2 separate regions of the Homo sapiens genome follow, and region 1 is linked to region 2. Evidence: promoter capture Hi-C in human tissues and cell types (Jung and others, 2019). All regions are on one chromosome and are shown on one strand. Each heading gives the region's core, a stretch centred on a gene start or on the middle of the fragment in contact. The rest is flanking DNA. Distances are from core to core; before and after follow the strand shown. Region 1 overlaps RANBP17 (RAN binding protein 17). Region 2 holds the start of RANBP17 (RAN binding protein 17).

Region 1 (5,061 bases), core at 429-2,928, 75 kb after region 2:
TTCTTTTTACTCTTTTTTCTCTAAACTTCTCTTCTAACTTCATTTCATTCATTTGATATTCAATCACTGATATCCTTTCTTCCATTTGATCAAATCTACTGAAGCTTGTGCATGCATCACGTAGTTCTCGTGCCATGGTTTTCAGCTCCATCAGGTCATTTAAGGACTTCTCTACACTGTTTATTCTAGTTAGCCATTCGTCTACTCTTTTTGCAAGGGTTTAGCTTCTTTGCAATGGGTTCGAACATCCTCCTTTAGCTTGGTGAAGTTCGTTATTACTGATCGTCTGAAGCCTTCTTCTCTCGAATCGTCAAAGTCATTCTCTGTCCAGCTTTGTTCCGTTGCTGGCGAGGAGCTGCGTTCCTTTGGAGGAGAAGAGACCCTCTGATTTTTAGAATTCTCAGCTTTTCTGCTCTGGTTTCTCCCCATCTTTGTGGTTTTATCTACCTTTGGTCTTTGATGATGGTGACGTATGGATGGGGTTTTGGTGTGGATGTCCTTTCTGTTTGTTAGTTTTCCTTCTAACAGTCAGGACCCTCAGCTGCAGGTCTGTTGGAGTTTGCTGGAGGTCCACTCCAGACCCTGTTTGCCTGGGTATCACCAGCTGAGGCTGCAGAACAGCAGATGTTGCTGCCTAATCCTTCCTCTGGAAGCTTAGTCTCAGAGGGGCACCGGGCCTTATGAGGTGTCAATCGCCCCCCTACTGGGAGGTGCCTCCCAGTTAGGCTACTCGGGACTCAGGGACCCACTTGAGGAGGCAGTCGGTCCGTTCTCAGATCTCACACTCCATGCTGGGAGAACTACTGCTCTCTTCAAAGCTGTCAGACAGGGACGTTTAAGTCTGCAGAAGTTTCTGCTGCCTTTTGTTCAGCTATGCCCTGCCCCTAGAGGTGGAGTCTACAGAGGCAGGCAGGCCTCCTTGAGCTGCCGTGGGCTCCACCCAGTTCGAGCTTTCTGGCTGCTTTGCTTACCTACTCAAGCCGCAGCAATGGCTCAAGCCCCTTCCCCAGCCTCGCTGCCGCCTTGCAGTTCCATCTCAGGCTCTTGTGCTAGCAGTGAGCGAGGCTCCGTGGGCATGGGACCCTCCGAGCTAGGTGCAGGTCATAATCTCCTGGTGTGCCGTCTGCTAAGGCCATTGGAAAAGCGCAGTATTAGGGTGAGAGTGTCCCGATTTTCCAGGTGCCGTCTGTCACAGCTTCCCTTTGCTAGGAAAGGGAATTCCTGGACCTCTTGCGCTTCCAGGGTGAGGCAATGCCCCGCCGTGCTAGGTGGGCTGCACCGACTTGTTTGGCAAGCCCTAGTGAGATGAATCCGGTACCTCAGTTGGAAATGCAGAAATCACCTGTCTTCTGCGTCAGTCTCTCTGGGAGCTGCAGACTGGAGCTGTTCCTATTCGGCCATCTTGGCGCCACCAAGCCGCTGTTTTATTTTTATTTTCATTTAAAGATAATTTCTAATTTAATTATTATTTCTTTGTTCTTTGTGATTTATGGATTATTTAGAAGTGTGCTTTTAAGTTACAAATATTTAGAGTTTTCCTAGTTATTGTTACTGATTTTTAAATTTTACCTACCTTGGTCAAGTATCATTTTGTGTGATTTCAGTCTTTCTAAATTTATTAAGACTTGTCATATGACCCAGAATATTGTCTGTCCTGGCAAACGTAGCATATACACTTGAAAAGAATATGTATTTTGCTATTTTTGGGTGTAATATAAATATAAATTAAGATAATGTTCATATATTCTTTGTCTTTATTGATTTCTTTTGTCTGTGTAATTATATTGTTTGCAGAGAGAGGGGTGTTAAATCTCCAGTTATGATTGTGGAATTGTTTATAATCTAATTCCTTAAATTTTTGTATCATGTAAACATTTGTGATTGTTATGTCTTCCTTATTGACCTTTACTCTTGAAATCTATCTTATCTGATATTACTGTAACCACTCCACTGTCTTCTTATGCTTACTATTTATGTAGTATATCTTTCTCCATCCATTTACTTCCTGCCTGCCTGTGTCTTTATATTTAAAGTGTGTCTTTTGTAGGTGGTAAATAGTTGTTCCCTTTTAAAAAATCCATTCTGACCATCTCTTTTTACTGGAATGTTTAGTTCATTTGCTAGGTGGAGGACACCAACTTAATTCCATTTAAATTATTTCCTTAGAATGGGAGTTTCATATCTCATTTTCATATCACACTGGTAGTCTGTATGTAGTCCACAAACCATGTGAGGTCTGACTTAAAGGTTTTTTCCTCCTCTTCAGTTAGCACTGAGGTCAAGTCAGACAGGTTTCTGTCTTGTCTTTCTGTTTAGGGCAGATTTTTTTTACCCAGTTTGTATTTTCATTTGGGGTGTAACTCTTTGCATCAGCTTTTTTGGACTTCTCACATTGGGCCTGTCCTAGGCTTTTTCCTTTGGCCATTAGAGGAGAAGCTCAAACTCTAGTTGTTTCTGTGCCTGTAACTCTAAATTTCAGCCTTCATATTATTTTTGGACATTGAGGATCATTTTACTCTTCTACCAGCTCAGTAGTACATTTGGTACCTTTGTGCAAATTAGAAAAATGTTCCATTTCATCCAGGCCATTGCAACAACATGCTAGAGTAAATAGATTGGTGGGCAGAATATAGGCTGGATTTCAGTCCTAACTTGTCCTTTCAGTTGAGTATCTTTACAGGTGACCCTGTAAGCTTGTGTTGTAGTGCTGTTTTTGTTTTGACTGATGACACATGACAATCTTTTGTCATTTCAGATTTGTGTTCTGTGTGCAGACATTAATTTGGATTATGTTATTTTATAATTTGGATTGTGTTTAGCCAGCTATCTATAAAATTACATTTAAAAAATATATAGCACAGACAATTAGTGTTTGGTTCTTCAAAAGTAAAGAGTTAGTAATAACTTAAGTGTGGTCAACTACATCCTCTGAAAGGCCTTTTAGCTGCAAAATAATCAGATCCTGGGCTTACAGTAAGTACGTGAAATTTCTTAGGTTTTTATTTTTCTTCCCACTCCTCTGCTCTCTGATTCTGTGTCTCTCCTTTCTCTGACCTCCTCCCTCCCAGCCTCTCCCATCATCCAGATCAAAAAGTGAACTTTAATCGGGGTGGGACGGGTCAAACAGCAAACAAGGGCAAAAAGCAGGGTTGCTCTCAAAGACAGATAATAAATATCAATGATGAAATTCGTGACAAAGCCTTAGGCCGGTAGCAAGATAGGTGTACCAACCTGAGACTCTTGTATTAAGTTGAACCCTCAAAAGGGTATAAAATGGTTTTAAATTGGTAGATACCCTGGCTTCCAGCAGAAGGGAATGAAAACCTCTTCCAAAGGATCAACCATAATTTAGGGCCTTGGAAATCCTGCAGATTAAGTTAAACAAGTGTTCATAGTAAACAAAAACAATAAAAGCCAGCACATAAACAATGAAGTAAGCTGCCATGAATGAGCACTAACAAAAATAAGTTATCTATTTGATTTAGAACCCCTATCTCCTAAAGACTCTTAAGATGTTGGAATTGGATAGGAATATAAAGCAATTATGTGCGAAATAGTTAAAGAAATAAAAAATAGAATCACAAATGAGCACATAACAGGAGTGTGAAAAACAACCAGGAGGATATGAAAAGGACCTGAAAAAACTTTTTTTATTGAAAACTTTGTGATCTAAAATTTCATGGATGTGTTAAACAGTAAATTGGACCCAACTGAGGAAAGAGTTGGCTAACTGGCAGTTAGAACTGAAGAAATTTTCAAGACTGCAGGAAAAAAGGAAAATGAAAATATTAAAAGAGACGTTAAAGGATGGAATGAGGTCAGGTATGTCAAAATGAGTCCCAGAAAGATAGAATAGAGGAAGGAGGAGAGGTGATAACTGAAGAAATTCTGAGAATTTTTTTGACTTAATAGAAGACATGAGTTCATCAATACAGCAAGCCCAACATATACCCATCAGAAACAGAAAAACAAAACTTTAGTCAAACTATATAACCCCAAAGACAAAATGTTAAAAGCAGCTGGAGAAGAAAGATCACTTAGAAAGTAGTGTAAACTGGACTGATAACTCAACTTCTCAACAGTAAAAATGGAAGCCAGAAGGTGTTAGAATATTATTCTCAAATAACTGAGCAAAAATAACTGCCAGGCTGTTATTGTATATCAGCAAAAATATCTTTCGAGAAAAACGATATACAATAGAGATTTCAGACAAGTGAAAGCAGAACGTTTTCTACTAGCCGATCTTTCATTAAAGGTTTTTATTAAACATTTTAAAGGTTATTTTCGAGGAAGAAGGGGCATGGTCCCAGAAGGAAGAAAAGGAGTACATGGAAATTGGTAAACTCAAAAATTTTATTTTATTTATTTATTTATTTATTTATTTATTTATTTATTTATTTAAGATGCAGTCTTGCCCTGTCAACCAGGCTGGAGTGCAGTGGCGTGATCTCAGTTCATTGCAACCTCTGCCTCCCAAATTCAAGCCATTCTCCTGCCTCAGCCTCCAGAGTAGCTGGGACTACAGTCATGCACCATGCCGGGCTAAATTTTTTGTATTGTTTTAGTAGAGACGGAGTTTCGCCATGTTGTCCAGGTTGGTCTCGAACTTCTGATCTCAAGTGATCTGCCCACCTCGGCCTCCCAAAATGCTAGGATTACAGGCATGAGCCACCGCACCTGGCTGTAAACACATTCATTTTAACATTCATAGTCTGTACAAAATAAGGATTATGTGTAATTTGTGGAATTAAGAACAGAATAAAAACATGAAAAGACAGAAGCATGTCAGAGAGAGAGTCGGGGGAGTGATGAGAATTAAAATTATTTTAAGTCCTTGTCTTATTTAGGAAGGGAATTAAAATGGCAGCACTTCAAGGGTAACAACTAAAAGAGTAGAAACTGTATGATTGTCTCCCATAACCCAGCAAAGAGAAAATAATGAAATAGAAAAATAAGCAAATTCAATTTTTTTAAAAGCCAAGAAAGGAAAATAACCAGAGACAATAGGACAATAGACAATAAAAAAATGGTAGGAGTGTTCCAGATATGTTATTAATCCAA
Region 2 (5,203 bases), core at 1,581-4,080:
ACTATTATAAAGATAGGACACGTGTGTGTATGACAATTCTATCACATATATTAAATATATATAAAACTATGAGTAAATATGAATTATCAGCAATCATGCATGCACACACCCACACACACACGACAGATAAGTATCTTTAACAACTAAAGGCAATAGAAAAGGCAGAACTTAAGTGGCCACAAATCTTGAAAGAAGGAAAGCACAAGGGGTAAGATTCCAATTTACCTTAGATTCCCCATCTGCTCCTCCCTGTCATCACCCCAAGGCATTTTCCAAGTGGCAGCAAGGAATAACAGCTAAATAGAAAGCAGCAGTCTCAATAGGCTAGGAGCAAAGGCTGGAGTTTCGGAACAAGAGCAACTGAGATTTGAAGGACAAAATTCTAGAAAGAAAGAAACTATAGAGATGTGAGTCCCCAAATTTGTGTCCGTTCCTAAGATATACATGCACATGAAGAGACTCTAAGAAATCCAGCAGAACAACAGCACCTAAAGAGCTCAACAAAGATTTCAGCAGCTACACAGGGCTGAAGAGACAGAGACTAGAGTTCAAGCCCCACAAGGTGGAAGGATCTTGGTAAACATTCCAGGCTTTTGTTTTTTTGAGACAGATTCTTGCTCTGTTGCCTGGCCTGGAGTGCAGTGGTGCAATCACGGCCCACTGCAGCCTATAGCTTCTGGGCCCAAGGGGTCTTCCCACCTCAGCCTCCCGAGTAGCTGGAACTACAGGCACATGCTACTACACCAAGCTAATTTTTTGTATTTCTTGTAGAGATGGGCTTTCACCATGTTGCCCAGGCTGGTCTCAAACTCCTGGATTCAAGCGATCCACCCTCTCTGGCTTTCCAACGTGCTGGGATTATAGTCATGAGCCATCATGCCCAGCCACATTCTAGGCTTTTAGTTGTAAGACCTAGTAAGGACCATGGCCTAGGAGTAAGGTCATAACTGAAGTTAACCAGAATTAAAAAGACTCAATGATCCACTAGTACTCTTGTCTGCCTACCACAAGAAAACTTAGCCCTCCTTGGAGAAACCTGTTATCATCCAGAGCCTCTACAAATTTTCTTCTACATGGTTTGAATTCAACAAGAAATCATGAGATATGTAAAAAAAAAAAAAAAAAAAAAAAAAAAAAAAAGAAAGAAAAAAAAGGGCCAAGGGCCAAGCACCAAAAACCCAGGAAGACTCAGATGATTCAGAAATTGGAGTTAACAGATAAGGGCTTTAAATAATACAGTTAAAATGTTTAAGAAAATAAAGACAAAGAATTTCATCAAAGCCTTGGAATCTATTTTTAAAATGGGAGAGGAGGAGGAACCATGAAAATTTCAACTTTCTAAATGAAAATTCTAGAACTGAAAATATTATAACTAAAACTAAGAATTCAATAGAGGGGATGTATAGCAGCTCAGACACAGCAGAACAGAGTTTCTATGGAATGGACAGCAGGCAAATAAAAAATACAGAATAGAAATAAGGAATATAGCAAAAACTTATAACATACATGTAACTGGAGTTCCAGAATGGAGAGGTAGAGAGAGAGAAGGGGACAGATGCAATATTTAAAGAACTAGTGACCAAGATTTTTCAAAACTTGATAAAAAAGATTACATTCACACTTAAAGAGCTTTATGAATCCCAAGCAGGATAAATACAACACACACACACACACACACTTAGCGACATCAAGCACAAAGTGCTGAAGACAAAAAGAAAAAATAAAAAAAGAGAAAAATGTTCAAGTACCTGAGGAGGGGGCCAAAAGACAGGAGCAACAATTAGACTGATGGCTGATTTCTCAATAGAAACAATGACAAGCAGAAGACAATGAGAAGACATTTTTAAAATGCTGAAAGATTAAAAAAAAAGCCAATGTGAAATTCTATACCCAGCAAAACTATCCTTTAAAAAATGAAGGTGAATTAAGATGATTTTATGTTAACAAAAGCTGAGAGACTTTGTTGTTAGCAGACCTGAATACAAGAAGTGCTTAAGGGAGTTTCCCTCTTAAATACTACAGCACAGTGCTCCCAAATGGAAATGCTGAACTTGAAGAAAAAACGGAGAACATCAGAAAGCAGCAACTTTGACCCAATTCTGCTCCAATAAATTCTCATTGCAGTGGAATCATTTGTTGTAAAATATAAGTTCATATTAAACAAAATGCAGACAAAGAATGAGGTAAAGCTTGAATTTTACAACTTAACAGCATGTAGACATGGGCGGTTTAATTTTAACCAAAATCAAGTTAAAAACATTGTTAAGCAACAATGGAATTTGGGCCCTGGGAGTCAGGGGTCAAGGGCAACAGCTGGCATGTGGGAGTCAAAGGTTATGGCTGTGTGTGTCTGTGGTTCCTGGCTGTTAGGAGACAAGAAAATCTGTGGAGATGCAGGTGTCGGGAGCCATGGGCGATAGTTGTATTTTGAGGGTCAGGGGTCAAGAGAGCCTTTGGAAGACTTATGAGTCAGGGTCCACGGCTGACGGGTGGGTCGTGGTAGTTGTGTCAAAGGGCAGAGGTTGGAGGTCATGACCCACCAACACACGCCGGTTGAAACTTGAGCGCAAGGGACGGTTGAGATTCCCGGAGGACACGCCCCTATCGGCCCCGCCCCGTGCACCGCCTCCGTCGCCCCGCCCCGTCCCTCCCAGCCCCGCCCCGTCCCTCCCAGCCCCGCCCCTCCAGCGCTTCGAATGCGGACGCGAAGCCTGGCTGAGGCTGCGAAGGACGAGCGGCGCAGGGACCCCGCGGGCGTCTGGGGCTTCCGCGGCGCCCGCCTCTGCTCCCTCCCCTCGGGCGCTGGGTGCCGACCGGCCGGCTGGCCGGCGCCGCCTCCTGGGAAGATGGCGCTGCACTTCCAGGTCAGTGTGCTCTGCGCCGCGGGCCCGCGCTCCGCCACGCTGGGAACCCGGCGGGACGCGTCTGGAGACCGAGGGCCGAGGACAGCGGCGGAGGCCGCAGGGCCGTGGGCCGGTGTCCCCGGAGTCCCAGCCCCTGCCTCTGCCCCTAGCCGGGGACCGGGACACTGGTCTGGGCTGCACACCCCAGGCCCGGGCCGGAGCCCGAGAAAGGGGCGGCCGAGCCTGGGTTGGAGGCGGCGGGTGGAGGGGGCGGGGGACAGGCCCAGGGCTCGTCCCGGGGAAGGTGCGGACGCCGGCAGCACGCTCGCTGACCGCGGCTTTAGTGTTGCCAGGGCAGGTGGGAGTCCCAGCTGGGCCGGCTTTGGCGCGCCTCGCGCGGCTGCCGAGCGGTGGAGCAGCCTTCCCGCCTTCCCGCCGCGTCGCCGGCGCGGCTCTATCGTCAGCCTCCCTCCACACAGTTGAGCCCCAGCCGGAGCGGGGGCTTGGGATCCACCGAAGGAGCGGCGGCAGCGGTTGGACTTTAATTGGCCAGAGGAGACAGGGGCTGCGTCTGGGGGGAGTTGCGAGGGAGGGCTACGCGGCCGCCTCTTCGGAGGAGGAAACCCGGGCCGGGCGCGGGCGCGGGCGCGGACGCGAGGATCGCAGAGGCTACGAAGATGGGACGCGTGCTTGTATATCCTCGGGCTGCTCTGACATCCCCGTTCAGTTATTCAGCAAACATTTATTATCTCCCCACTGTGTCTCAAGCATTGTGGAAAGTTCTGGGGATAAAGGATGACATCTTACTATCCTCGCCCTCATACAGTTAACAGAGAATTACAGTACAAGTGAAAAATGTATGGTAGAAATAGTCACAGTATCATAGCACAGAAAAGGGGGTAGCCAGCCAAATGTGTATGTTGAGAAGGAGTGAAGCAGAGCTGCTATGCTCTTAGCTGAGAGATGCTTTAAGATTCTTTGAGCCTCCATTCTTCCATTTATTAATTATTGAGCGCCTACTATGCTAGGCGCTGAAGATACAACAGCTCTGAACAAAACTATGGTTTCTACTCTCAGGGAACTTGCAGTCTACTGGTCCTTGAAAGAGTCGTAGTTGTTTGCCAGGTGAAGAGGAAGGGAAGGATATGGAGGTAGAAGGACGTGTGAGCCAAGGCAAAGAATTGTGGAAGAACATGGTGTACTGCAGAAAGTTGAGTCTGGTTGGGACAAAGGGATGGGATCAGGGGAGGCAGTGGGTGGCAGGAGATGACCCCAGGGAGGGAAGGGAATTTCATAATATGGTGACAGTGTATCTAAGAATCTCATTCCCCTTGTAGACTCTTTTGAACCCCCTGTGATCACACTGATTTATAACTTGGCTGATTTATTGATTCTTCTAAAGGGTCTTTTTTTTAAAACCAGTTACTGTCTGATAATCGACAGTTCTAGAATGTTATGTAGTAAGCCCGACACATTACCTTTTGACTTCATGCCATTTCTAAGGGTCCTCAGGTCAAAATAATGTATTACCACTTTAGTAAATATGCCCTCTGGGAAATTTTCACAGGAAGAATCTTACAAGGAGGATTTATGGATTGTAAATAGGTAATCAGATGTTCACAGAGCCCGAGTAAATCTTGAGAGTAAATTAAAAGGTATGGTGGAACTTTGGAATTTTTTCATACATGGAAAGGTGATGTACAGTTAAATCACCAAGCCCTGGAAGACTTCTTCATATTTAGGCACAGTGTTGGAAAAGTTAGCTGCTGATGTCAAAACTACCCATATTGGTTTTGCAGGAATGTACTTCACAGTACATTCCAACATAAGTACTTCACAGTACATTCCTGTAGACAGCTTAAAAGCGGAGTTGGACAAATAAAAGATCAGACAGTTTTGTTGACTAGAAAAAAACTGAAATTTCTCCGTTTGAATTCTTTTTAGCATATAGGATCATATTGTTAATCAGTTAACTCAAGGAACATTTGTTAATAGTGATAACCAGTACCTAGCATTTTGAGTTTTCATATCCTCATTATAGAGGTGAGCCCTGCCACTAACTTAAAAAGTGTGCATATATACGTTTCATTCTGAAGACACTGAGTCTTAAAACAGTTGTGACTTGCCCAACGTTACAGAGTTAGAGTAGGCCTCATAACTCATAAGTTCCGTGTTCCCCATTACCTCTGTCTTACTGTCACCTACCCAAAAGGGCAGCTAGGCAAAAATTATACCATCAAGATGATGAGTAAAGAAGCAGATTTGTGTAGGGTGAGGTTAGGGTAGTGGTCAACATCTTTTTCACATCATGACATACATAAAAAATGTTAATTGTGTGTCTCATTAACATAAACCGCTCA

Evidence for each region. The method cuts DNA at HindIII sites, captures the fragments that hold promoters and counts their contacts. A contact is called where the count stands out against the background at its distance.
Region 1: a contact is called between a fragment that was not itself captured here and the fragment with the promoter of RANBP17 in region 2, in 2 of the 25 tissues and cell types used here (H1 embryonic stem cells and mesendoderm cells).

Annotation. Positions count from the first base shown.
Region 1 is chr5:170,935,003-170,940,063 of GRCh38, forward strand. The region is part of intron 12 of RANBP17 (RAN binding protein 17); the gene reads left to right. Among named protein-coding and RNA genes, the nearest start is that of RANBP17, 76 kb to the left of the region's middle. The HindIII fragment of the contact is 5,474 bases long and covers 1-4,415 here.
Region 2 is chr5:170,859,188-170,864,390 of GRCh38, forward strand. It overlaps RANBP17 (RAN binding protein 17), which reads left to right and starts at 2,831. Exons shown (of 28, transcript NM_022897.5): 1 at 2,831-2,864. The coding sequence starts at 2,847. The HindIII fragment of the contact is 7,494 bases long and covers 74-5,203 here.